Regions from separate parts of the Homo sapiens genome. Here region 1 is linked to region 2. Evidence: promoter capture Hi-C in human tissues and cell types (Jung and others, 2019). All regions are on one chromosome and are shown on one strand. The core of a region is centred on a gene start or on the middle of the fragment in contact, and the rest is flanking DNA. Distances in the headings are between cores, read along the strand shown. Region 1 overlaps EPB41L5 (erythrocyte membrane protein band 4.1 like 5). Region 2 holds the start of TMEM177 (transmembrane protein 177).

What was found. The method cuts DNA at HindIII sites, captures the fragments that hold promoters and counts their contacts. A contact is called where the count stands out against the background at its distance.
Region 1: a contact is called between a fragment that was not itself captured here and the fragment with the promoter of TMEM177 in region 2, in 2 of the 25 tissues and cell types used here (mesenchymal stem cells and stomach).

The regions. Positions count from the first base shown.
Region 1 is chr2:120,034,211-120,039,242 of GRCh38, forward strand. The region is part of intron 2 of EPB41L5 (erythrocyte membrane protein band 4.1 like 5); the gene reads left to right. Among named protein-coding and RNA genes, the nearest start is that of EPB41L5, 24 kb to the left of the region's middle. The HindIII fragment of the contact is 6,408 bases long and covers 1-4,836 here.
Region 2 is chr2:119,676,219-119,680,870 of GRCh38, forward strand. It overlaps TMEM177 (transmembrane protein 177), which reads left to right and starts at 2,983. Exons shown (of 2, transcript NM_030577.3): 1 at 2,983-3,058; 2 at 4,614-4,652. The coding sequence starts at 4,636. RefSeq lists a silencer at 2,830-3,059. The HindIII fragment of the contact is 8,254 bases long and covers 1-4,652 here.

The DNA.
Region 1 (5,032 bases), core at 383-2,882, 360 kb after region 2:
TTTTGTTCTGAGGACGCAGCTGTCTAGCTGGCAGAAGCCCATTCTTTCTCACCTTAGAACACAACTGTTGTATTTCAATAGTCTAGCAAATGATGCTTTGGCAGAATAAGGAGGAGAGTTATTTTTAAAGCAATGCTTCCCTTTTGTCTTGAAGCAAATATAGAATGTTGATGGAATATGAAATTGATTCTAGAGCTATGCCTTAGAATGAAAGTAATGGAAACATATAAGTTTGGTACCAGATAGATGAATTCAGCAGAAGACTTGTGTGGCTTTCTGCTGTAGTGTAGAAATATTTTGTAGTGTAGAATAAAAATACTTGTAGTGTAGTGATTGCCATTAGCAAATTTTAGCACAGTTAAATTTGTTAGCTGGGCTCAGTGTGACCACGCCTATAACCCAGCACTTTGGGAGGCTGAGGCAGTCAAGACCAGACTGGGCAACATGGCAAAACCCTGTAAAAACAAAACAAAACAAAACAAAAAAAAAACCACACACACGAAAATTAGCCAGGCATCATGGTGCACACCTGTAGTCCCAGCAACTTGGGAGACTGAGCCGAAAGGATTCCTTAAGACCTGGAGGTCAAGGCTGTGGTGAGCCATGCATGCCGCTGCACTGTAACCTGGGTAACAGAGCGAGACCCCATCTCAAAATCAGTCAGTCAGTCAAACTGTTAGCAGTACTTTGTTGTTGTTACAAGCATTGTTTAAAACCAGTAGTTTTCTTTTTCATTTCCAATAATGACTTTCTCCTCCTTTTCCATTGTGTTGCTAGAACAAATATGTTGAAATATTCAGTTGGTTTGTTTTATTATTTAAACGCACATACACAGTTGGGAATTTTGCATTTGTTGTAATTTCTGCCTGGGATTTGTTTTCTCTAGGTAATTACATAGTTATGTCACTCAGTCTTTTTTCAAATCTCCCTTATTAAATGGGCCCCATGTAAACACCATTTCCCATAGTTACCTTGTTCTGTATAACCTTTATCACTCGCTAGCATAATATTTTCTTCCCTTGCTAGGATATAAGATTCTTCTAAAAAAATTTTTTTTAAAAATTTTTTGTAGAGATAGGGTCTTGCTATGTTATCCAGGCCAGTCTCGGAACGCCTGGTCTTAAGTGATCCTCCTGCCTTGGCTTCCCAAAGTGCTGGGATTGTAGGCATGAGCCACCATGCCTGGCTGTTTTTTTCTTTAATTGAATATGAGCTTCTTGAAGGCAGGGGCTTACCTGTTTTGTTTTCCTGTTTAGTTGCTTAGAACAGTGCCTGGCACATAGTAAGCGCTCTATTAATGTTTGTTCAATAAACCAACTTCAGTGATAGAGTGCCTGTAGTTCCAGCTACTCAGGAGGCTGAGGTGGGAGGATTGCTTAAGGCCACGAGTTTGAGGCTGTAGTGCAGTCTTCACACCTGTGAATAGCCACTGAATTCTGGCCTGGGCAACATGGTGAGACCCCCATCTCTTAAAAAAAATTGTTGAATAAATCAAATTAGGAATAGTATTTGAAACAGATCTTTAATTTTAAAAGAAATTCATCCCTGAAGGAAGTTAAGATCACTCCCAATCATAAATTTTTAATGAGAATTCTTGCCCTGTTTGGGACAAGATAATGAAGTAATAAGGGCTTCTAGTGTCCTAAGATTAACCCATGAATGATCATAAAACTTAAGACAGAAAAATTAGTCCCAGGTAAGGAGTGTTGATACTGGAGTGTGTGTGTGGTAATGGTGGCTGCAGTCTGGTTTAGGGGGCTGCTCCTGTGGCTGTGGAAGGATAATTGAGGTAAAAGGCAGTTTGGATGGAGGTCTTACCCCCTGTTCCAAATTTGTCTTGATAATTAGTATCTCTTTTAAGGGGTGTGATAGCAATAACTCAGACAGTGGGTGGAAGTGTCTTCAAGAATAAATCATAATAGCACTGCCTAAAAAGTTTCTCACCTCTAAAAATCCTTATCCTTAAAATTCCCTTACCTAAATTTCCTACCCTTCCTCCACCAAACTCTTAGAGAGCAGTGAATTATTATTATAGAAAATGCCTCCTTCCCAATGCTACTTTCATCTGTGGACAAAGAATGAATTATTAACCTGAGGGAGTTGTTTGTATAATGGAAAGTGATTAACTGTGATTTTCTCTTGTTAGGGCTCTCCTCCCTAGAATTCTTCTATTCCCCCAGGGGTTTCTCAGTGCTAAATGTTGCTGATACAGACTAGAGTCAGGCCTTTCTCTTGTTACACATAATCTAGAGAAAGTAACTCATGTTCCCAAATAAATATGTCCAAAATAAGGAGACAAATGAGCGCAAGCACCTCAAAAGGCAAGTAAAAGATAACAAACTGTGTGTATGTGTGTGTTTTCTTGTTTTATGTTGTTAATATCTTTGTGTATATAGTAGAAGCAAAGGCAGATGGAATAAAAAGAAAAGTCTAATAAATTTTCTAAAAGATATTAACAACATGAAACAAGAACAAAAACTTACTTAATAGGACCAAAGGAAAATACTAGGTATAAGAAGTATAATCTATAGAACACATTTGATGGGATGAAATTAGGATCAGTTAAGGTGAAGGAGAAATTAGTGAGTTGGAAGATCATATTTAGAATTCTTTCCATAAGAGGAAAGAAAGGATATAATATGAAGCATAAAATAAAAATTAAGAAATAAATGAAATTCAAAAGTAGGAGTTCCTTTTTCCCCTAAGATCAGGAACAAGATAAAGGTATCTGCTGTTGCCACTTTTGTTCAACATAGTACTGGAACTTCTGTCCAGAGCAGTTCAGCAGAAAAAAGAAATGCATCCAAATGGGAAGGGAAGAAATAAAATTATCTCTATTTAAGATGACATGATCTTATATGTAGAAAACCAAAGATTTTGCAGGAAAAAAAAACCTTATGGTGCTAATAAGTTAGCAATGATCTGAAAACAAAATTAAGAAAACCATTTCATTTATAATAGCATCTAAGAGAATAAAATGCTTAGGAATAAATTTAACCAAGGAGGCAAAAGACTTGCAGTATAAAACACTGCTGAGAGGAATGAAAGAACATGTAAATAAGAAGGAAGATATCCCACGTTCAAGAATTTGGAGACTTAATCTTGTTAAGAAGACAGTACTACCCAAAGTGATCCATAGATTAAATGCAATTCCTATCAAAATCCAAACGATGTTATTTGCAGAAATAGAAAAACCCATTCTAAAATCCATATGGAATCTGAAGGGAGCCAAAACAATCTTGAAAAGAAGAAGAAAGTTAGAGGACTCACAGTTCCTGATTTATTTCAAAAGTTACTACGAAACTACAGAATCAAAAACTGTGGGGCTGCGTGTGATGGCTCACACCTGTAATTCCAGTGCTTTGGGTGGCTAAGGCAGGAGGATTGCTTGAGACCAGGAGTTCAAGACCAGGCTGAGCAACATAGCCAGACCCCATCTCTACAAAAGAAAAAAAAAAGCAGTGTGTTACTGGCAATACAGACAGACATTGACCAATGGAATAGAATAGAGAGACTAGAAACAAACCCTTGTAAATATGGTAAAATGATTTTTGACAAGGGTGCCAAAACCACTCAGTGGAGAAAAGACAGTCTTTTCAACAAATGGTGATGAGAAAACTGGATACCCACATGGAAAAGAAAGAAGTCAGACCTTTTCCTTATACCATATACAAAAATTAATGTAAAGATGGCTCAAAGACATAGAGACCTAAAACTATAAAATTCATAGAAGAAAACAGGGAAAAAATCTTCATGACATTAGATATGGCAGTGATTTTGTAGGATATGATAACAAAAGCACAGGCAGCACAACAAATAAGTTGGACTTCATCAAAGCTTTTGTGTATTAAAGGACACTGCCAAGAGAGTAAAAAGACAACCCACAGAATGTGAGAAAATGTTTGCGAACCAGATATATGATAAGAGATTAATATCCAGAATATATAAAGAACTCCTACAACTCAGCAACAACAACCAAAAGCCAATTCGAAAATAGGCAAAGAACTTACACATTTCTCCAAAGAACATATATAAATGGCTAATAAGCACATTAAAATATTTTCAGCATCACTAATCAGAATGGAAATTTGAATCAGAGCCACGATGAGAGAGACTGATTCATACCTATCAAGTGGCTGGTTTTAAAAAGTAAAAGAGAAAGTAACAAATGTTGGCAAGGATGTGGAAGAACTGGAATTGTTATACACTTTCAGAGGGAATGTAAAATAGTGTTGCTGCTGTAGAAAACAGTTTGACAGTTTCTCAAAAAGTTAAACATACGGCTGGGTGCAGTGGCTCACTCCTGTAATCCCAGCACTTTGGGATGCTTGAGGCCAAGAGTTCAAGACCAGCCTGGCCAACATGGCAAAACCCTATCTCTACTAAAAATACAAAAATTAGCCTGGCATGGTTGTGCACCTTAGTCCCAGCTACTTGGAAGGCTGAGGCATGAGAATCGCTTGAAACCCGGGGGTGGAGATTGCAGTGAGCCTAGATGATGCCTTTGCACTCTTGCCTGGGCGACAGAGTGAGACTGTATCTCAGAAAAAATAAAAAATATATAAATAGTTAAACACAGAATTAGCATATGACCCAGCACTTTCACTCCTAGGTGTATACCAGGAAGAGTTGAAAGCAGGGACTCAAACAGATACTTACACACCAGTGTTCGTGGCAGCATTATTCCAAACTGAAAAGATGGAAAAATCCCAAATGTACATCAACACTTGAAGAAGTAAACAGAATGGTATTTATATGCAATGGAATATTTTTCAGCTTTAAAAAGGAAGGAAATTTTGATATATTTTGCAATACGGATGAACCTTAAAAATACTGTGAGTGAAATAAGCCAGAAACAAGAGGACAAATATTGTTATGATTCTACTTATGTGAGATACATGGAATAGGCAGATTCATAGAGACAGAAAGTAGGAGAGAGGGTGAGTGAAATAAGCCAGAAACAAGAGGACAAATACTGTTATGATTCTACTTATGTGAGATACATGGGATGGGCAAATTCTTAGAGACAGAA
Region 2 (4,652 bases), core at 1,733-4,232:
TAATATTCCGTTGCATGAACTATGCCATAATTTGTTTATCCATTCATCAGTTGATGAACATTTTGATTTCTACATTTTCACTAGTGTAAATAGCATTGCTATGAACATTTAGGTACAAGTATTTGTTTGAGTGCCTGTTTTCAATTATTTTGGGTATATTTCTAGGAGTGGATAGCTGATTCATATGGTAATTCTAAGTTTAACTTTTTAAAAAAATTACTATTTTTTTTTAGAAAACAGGGTCTCACTATGTTCCCCAGGCTGGCCTCGAACTCTTGGCCTCAAGCAATCCACCTCGGCCTTCTAAGTAGCTGGGACTACAGGCACAAGCCACTGAGCCTAGCTTAGCTTAAGGTTAACTTTTTGAGGAAGCTCTAAACTGTTTTCTACAGTGGCTGCACCATTTTACATTCCCACCAGCAATGTATGAGGGTTTCAGTTTCTCCACATCCTCTCCAACATATATTATTTTCTAGGTTTTCTTTTTCCTTATAGAAATCCAGTGGTTGTGAATAATATCTCATTGTGGTGATTTGCATTTCCCTAGCCGCTCTGTGATCAGCCCTAGTGACTGATACTAGTGAGCACATTTTTATATGCTTTTTGGCATATATTTGTATATATTTTTTGAGAAATGTCTACTCAAGTCATTTGCCCATTTATTAATTGGCTTGTTGAGTTGCTAAGAGTTCTTTATATATTCTGGATACTACACCCTTATCAGATCTATGATTTGTAAATATTTTCTCCTATTGTGGATTGTCTTTCCACTTTTCTTGATAGTATTTTTCATGCACAAAAGTTTTTCATTTTGATGGAGTCCAACTGGCCAGCCTACTTTAAAAAATTTTTTTAAACTTTTTATTATGGAAATTTCCAAACACACACAAAAGTAGAGCATGGTATGATGAAGATCCCTGAACCTGTCATGCAGCTTCACAATAACTAACACTTTGTCAATGTTGTTTCATCTGTGCCCCTGTTTTTTTGTTGTTGTTGTTGTTTGGATTTGGTTTCGTTGGAATATTTTGAATCAAATAGTAGACATTGTGTCATTTCACCTGTAAACACTTCAGTATGCATCTCTAGTAAGAATTTTTTGGTTTATATAAACTCCATGTCATCATCCCATCTGATGAAATAAGCAATAATTCATTAATATCATCTAATATTCAAATCCAAATTCAAATTTCTCCAAGATGCCTTTTGTTTGTTTGTTTGTTCCTTTGTTTGTTTGAGACAGAGTCTCACTTAGCCACCCAGGCTGGAGTGCAGTGGCACAATCTCGGCTTACTGCAACCACCATCTCCCAGGTTTTAGCGATTCTCCCGTCTCAGCCTCCTGAATAGCTAGGATTATAGGCGTGTGCCACCATGCCTGGCTAATTTTTGTATTTTAGTAGAGACGGAGTTTCACCATGTTGGCCAGGCTGGTCTTGAACTCCTGACCTCAGGTGATCTGCCCTCCTTGGCCTCCCAAAGTGCCAGGATTACAGGCGTAAGCCACCGCGCCCAGCCCAAGGTGTCTTTTTTACAGTTAGTTTATTTGGTTCAGGATCCCAATAAAAGTCACATATTGCATTTAACTGCAATGACTCTCAAGTCTCTTTTCTTTTGAGTCCCCCTCCTTCCCTGTTTATGCCATTGATTTGTTGGATAAACCACGTCATTTGCCCTGTAGAATGTCCCACATTCTGGCTTTGGCTGAGGTCACATTGCACTATTTACATACAAACAACTGAGCAGCCAAAATTGGGGGGGGGGGCTCAGAAACAGAACAGACTTTAATAATAATAGCTAATGGCTAGGCGGCACAAACCGTGAGGCACAGGTTACATATACACCAACTCATTTTATCACACAGCTAGTAAGGGGTGGAGCCCGGCTTTAACCCTAGGCAGTCTGTTTTCACCCTCTGTAAAGGATTGGGCATGGCTGTGTTCCAAGAAAACTTTATTTACAAAAGCAGGTGGAGAGCTGGATTTGGTGCACAGATTAGATGATCCCTCATCTACCTCACAGAGCAGCTGGAAAGGAGAAATGACAGATGGCACGCTGCTCTGTGGACTGTACAGTGTGAAGCACCTGGGAGGAGCTTGGGGGGCAGCGAACATGGTAATAAACATAAAGCTCAGAGCTCCCCGCCAAGGGTGAGCGCTTCCAGACGGAGAAGTACACGGGCCGGCCAGTCAGATGGGCATGGGTTCTGATGGGGGCCCTGCCATAGGCCGCCTGGTGACCCACGCGGGGCTGCCGTTCCTTCGGGGGTTCAACGGCATGATCAAAGACACCGGGATGTGTGTGTGTGTGTGTGTGTGTGTGTGTGATGATCAAAGACACCGGGGTGGGTGTGTGTGTGTGTGTGTGTCATGATCAAAGACACCAGGGTATGTGTGTGTGTGTGTGTGTGTGTGGCATGATCAAAGACACCGGGGTGTGTGTGTGTGTGTGTGTGGCATGATCAAAGACACCGGGGTGTGTGTGTGTGTGTGTGTGTGTGACGGAGTCTCGCTCTGTCGCCCAGGTTGGAGTGCAGTGGCGTATTCTCGGCTCACTGCAACCTCTGCCTCCCAGGTTCAAGCGATTCTCCTGCCTCAGCCTCCCCAGCAGCTGGGGACTACAGGCGTGCGCCACCACGCCCAGCTAATTTTTGTATTAATCAAAGACGCATTTCAACGCAGAGGAGGAAGTGCTAGCGGACCCACCCCAAGGTGCACAGTTAGAGAAGGAGCCTCTGCGGCGGCCGGAGCCCCCCACGGACATCCCCTTGAGGCCCCCCCAGCCACACCCCCAAGAGTCCCGCCCCCAGACCCGTCGAGCGAGCTCCCCTCCCTGAAATCCTCGCCCCGAGATCTCCGGCCGGCGAGCTCCGCCCCCTGAAGTCCCCATCCCAAGATCCGGGGCCGGCGAGCTCCGCCTCCCGAAGTCCCCGCCCCCAGATCCCCGGCCGGCGTGCTTTGCGGCCGCCCTGCCGCGCGCACATGTAGGCGTTCCGAGCGGCGGCGGAGGTGAGCGCACGGACGAGCGGGAGGGACCCTTCTCCGGCCTGATGCGACCCGGTAACGCGTTCAGACTGCGGAGTAGCCTAGGGGCCCAGAGTGGAAGCGTAGCGAGGACCCCTCTGCGGGGCTCCTGCAGCCCCTCCTCCCCCAGCCACCGGCGGGCTGCATGGTACTGTGTTCTAGGCCCACCCCGCAGCGCGATGGCCCTAGGGACGTTGGACTTTGGTCCAGACCTTTCCTTTCTTAGCCTCACTTTCCGCATTGGGAAAAAAAAAAAGCCCGAATGATAATGATTCTTATAGGAGTTCTTGATTAAGATAGGCCAAGCGGTACCCTGCGTTTTTGTTTGCGGCAACTCATTCGTTGCTCATTAAGCACTTTTCACGGACAGGAATACAGTAAGTTTCAATCAAAGTGAAATAATTGTGAATTTTTACTGACGTATTCACGGATGAAGTGATAGGATGCCCGGGGATGTTTCAAAATAAACCAGTTGGACGGAAGTGTGGTGGAAAGAGAAATCAAACAAGATTGGCCATGAGTTGATGGGATTGAAGTTGATGGATGTACTATTTTGTCTACTTTGGTATATGCTTGTAATTTGGCATAACAAGTTTTCTAAAACAAAAAGTTTGCTGTGGACACCTGACTATGCCTGTGTTAGCTTGCTAGAGCTGCCATGCCGAAGTACCGGAGACTGGGTGGCCCAACCAGCAGAAATTTGTCCTCTGGGAGTTATGGAGGCTGGAAGTTCAAGACCAGGGTGTTAACAGGGTTGGTGTCTTCTGAGACCTCCCTTCTTGGCTTGTAGGTGGTAGCCTTTTCCCTGGATCCTCACATGATCTTCCTGCTGTGCCTGTTTGCATCCTAATCTCTTCTTATAAGTACACCAGTCAAATTGGATTAGGATCCATACTGATGGCCTCATTTTATCTTAATTATCTCCTTAAAGACCCTGTCTCCAAATACAGCCACAGTCTGAGGTACTGGGGGTTAGGACTTAAATATATGAACTGGGGAGGAGGAGGAGACACAGTGCAGCCCATAACACTGTCACTTCACTAGCTTAGGATTTTGGCCATTTAAGTTTTCACAGCTTTGAAATAGGGTTAGCTGTAGTAATTAGGTCATGGGGTTGTGAGGGTTCAATCGGTAAGAGTGCTCAGAACTGAGTCTAGCATATAGTAAGCACTCAATAAATTGAACACGTTTTTCCTTATAAATTAGTAATCATAGGGCTTTACCATGGGATGAGTGGAATGAGGCAGTTGGAGTGCCGTGCCCAGCGATGGGAATAAAAGTCATTACAGCCATTATTATAAGGAATATCTGCTGCTGTGCCAGACACTAAATGTTTTATGTATGTTTATTCATGTGCTCATCACCGCCACCCTAGAGGTGGGCCATTACGACACACCTGTTTGGCACATGGGGAAATTGACGCACAGAGACGGAGCTGGGATTTGAACACAGGCACTCTGGCTCTAGAGCCCACACTCTTCACCACTATGCTGTGTTACTTTGGTTTAAAAAGGTGGTGTGGACCCTGGAGGATGTTCAGTCTGCAGGCTGACCCAGGGAAACTGGCTGACTTCTCTTTTTCTTGGCCCAGATTGTCCGCAGTGACTACACTCATGGCAGGTCCCCTGTG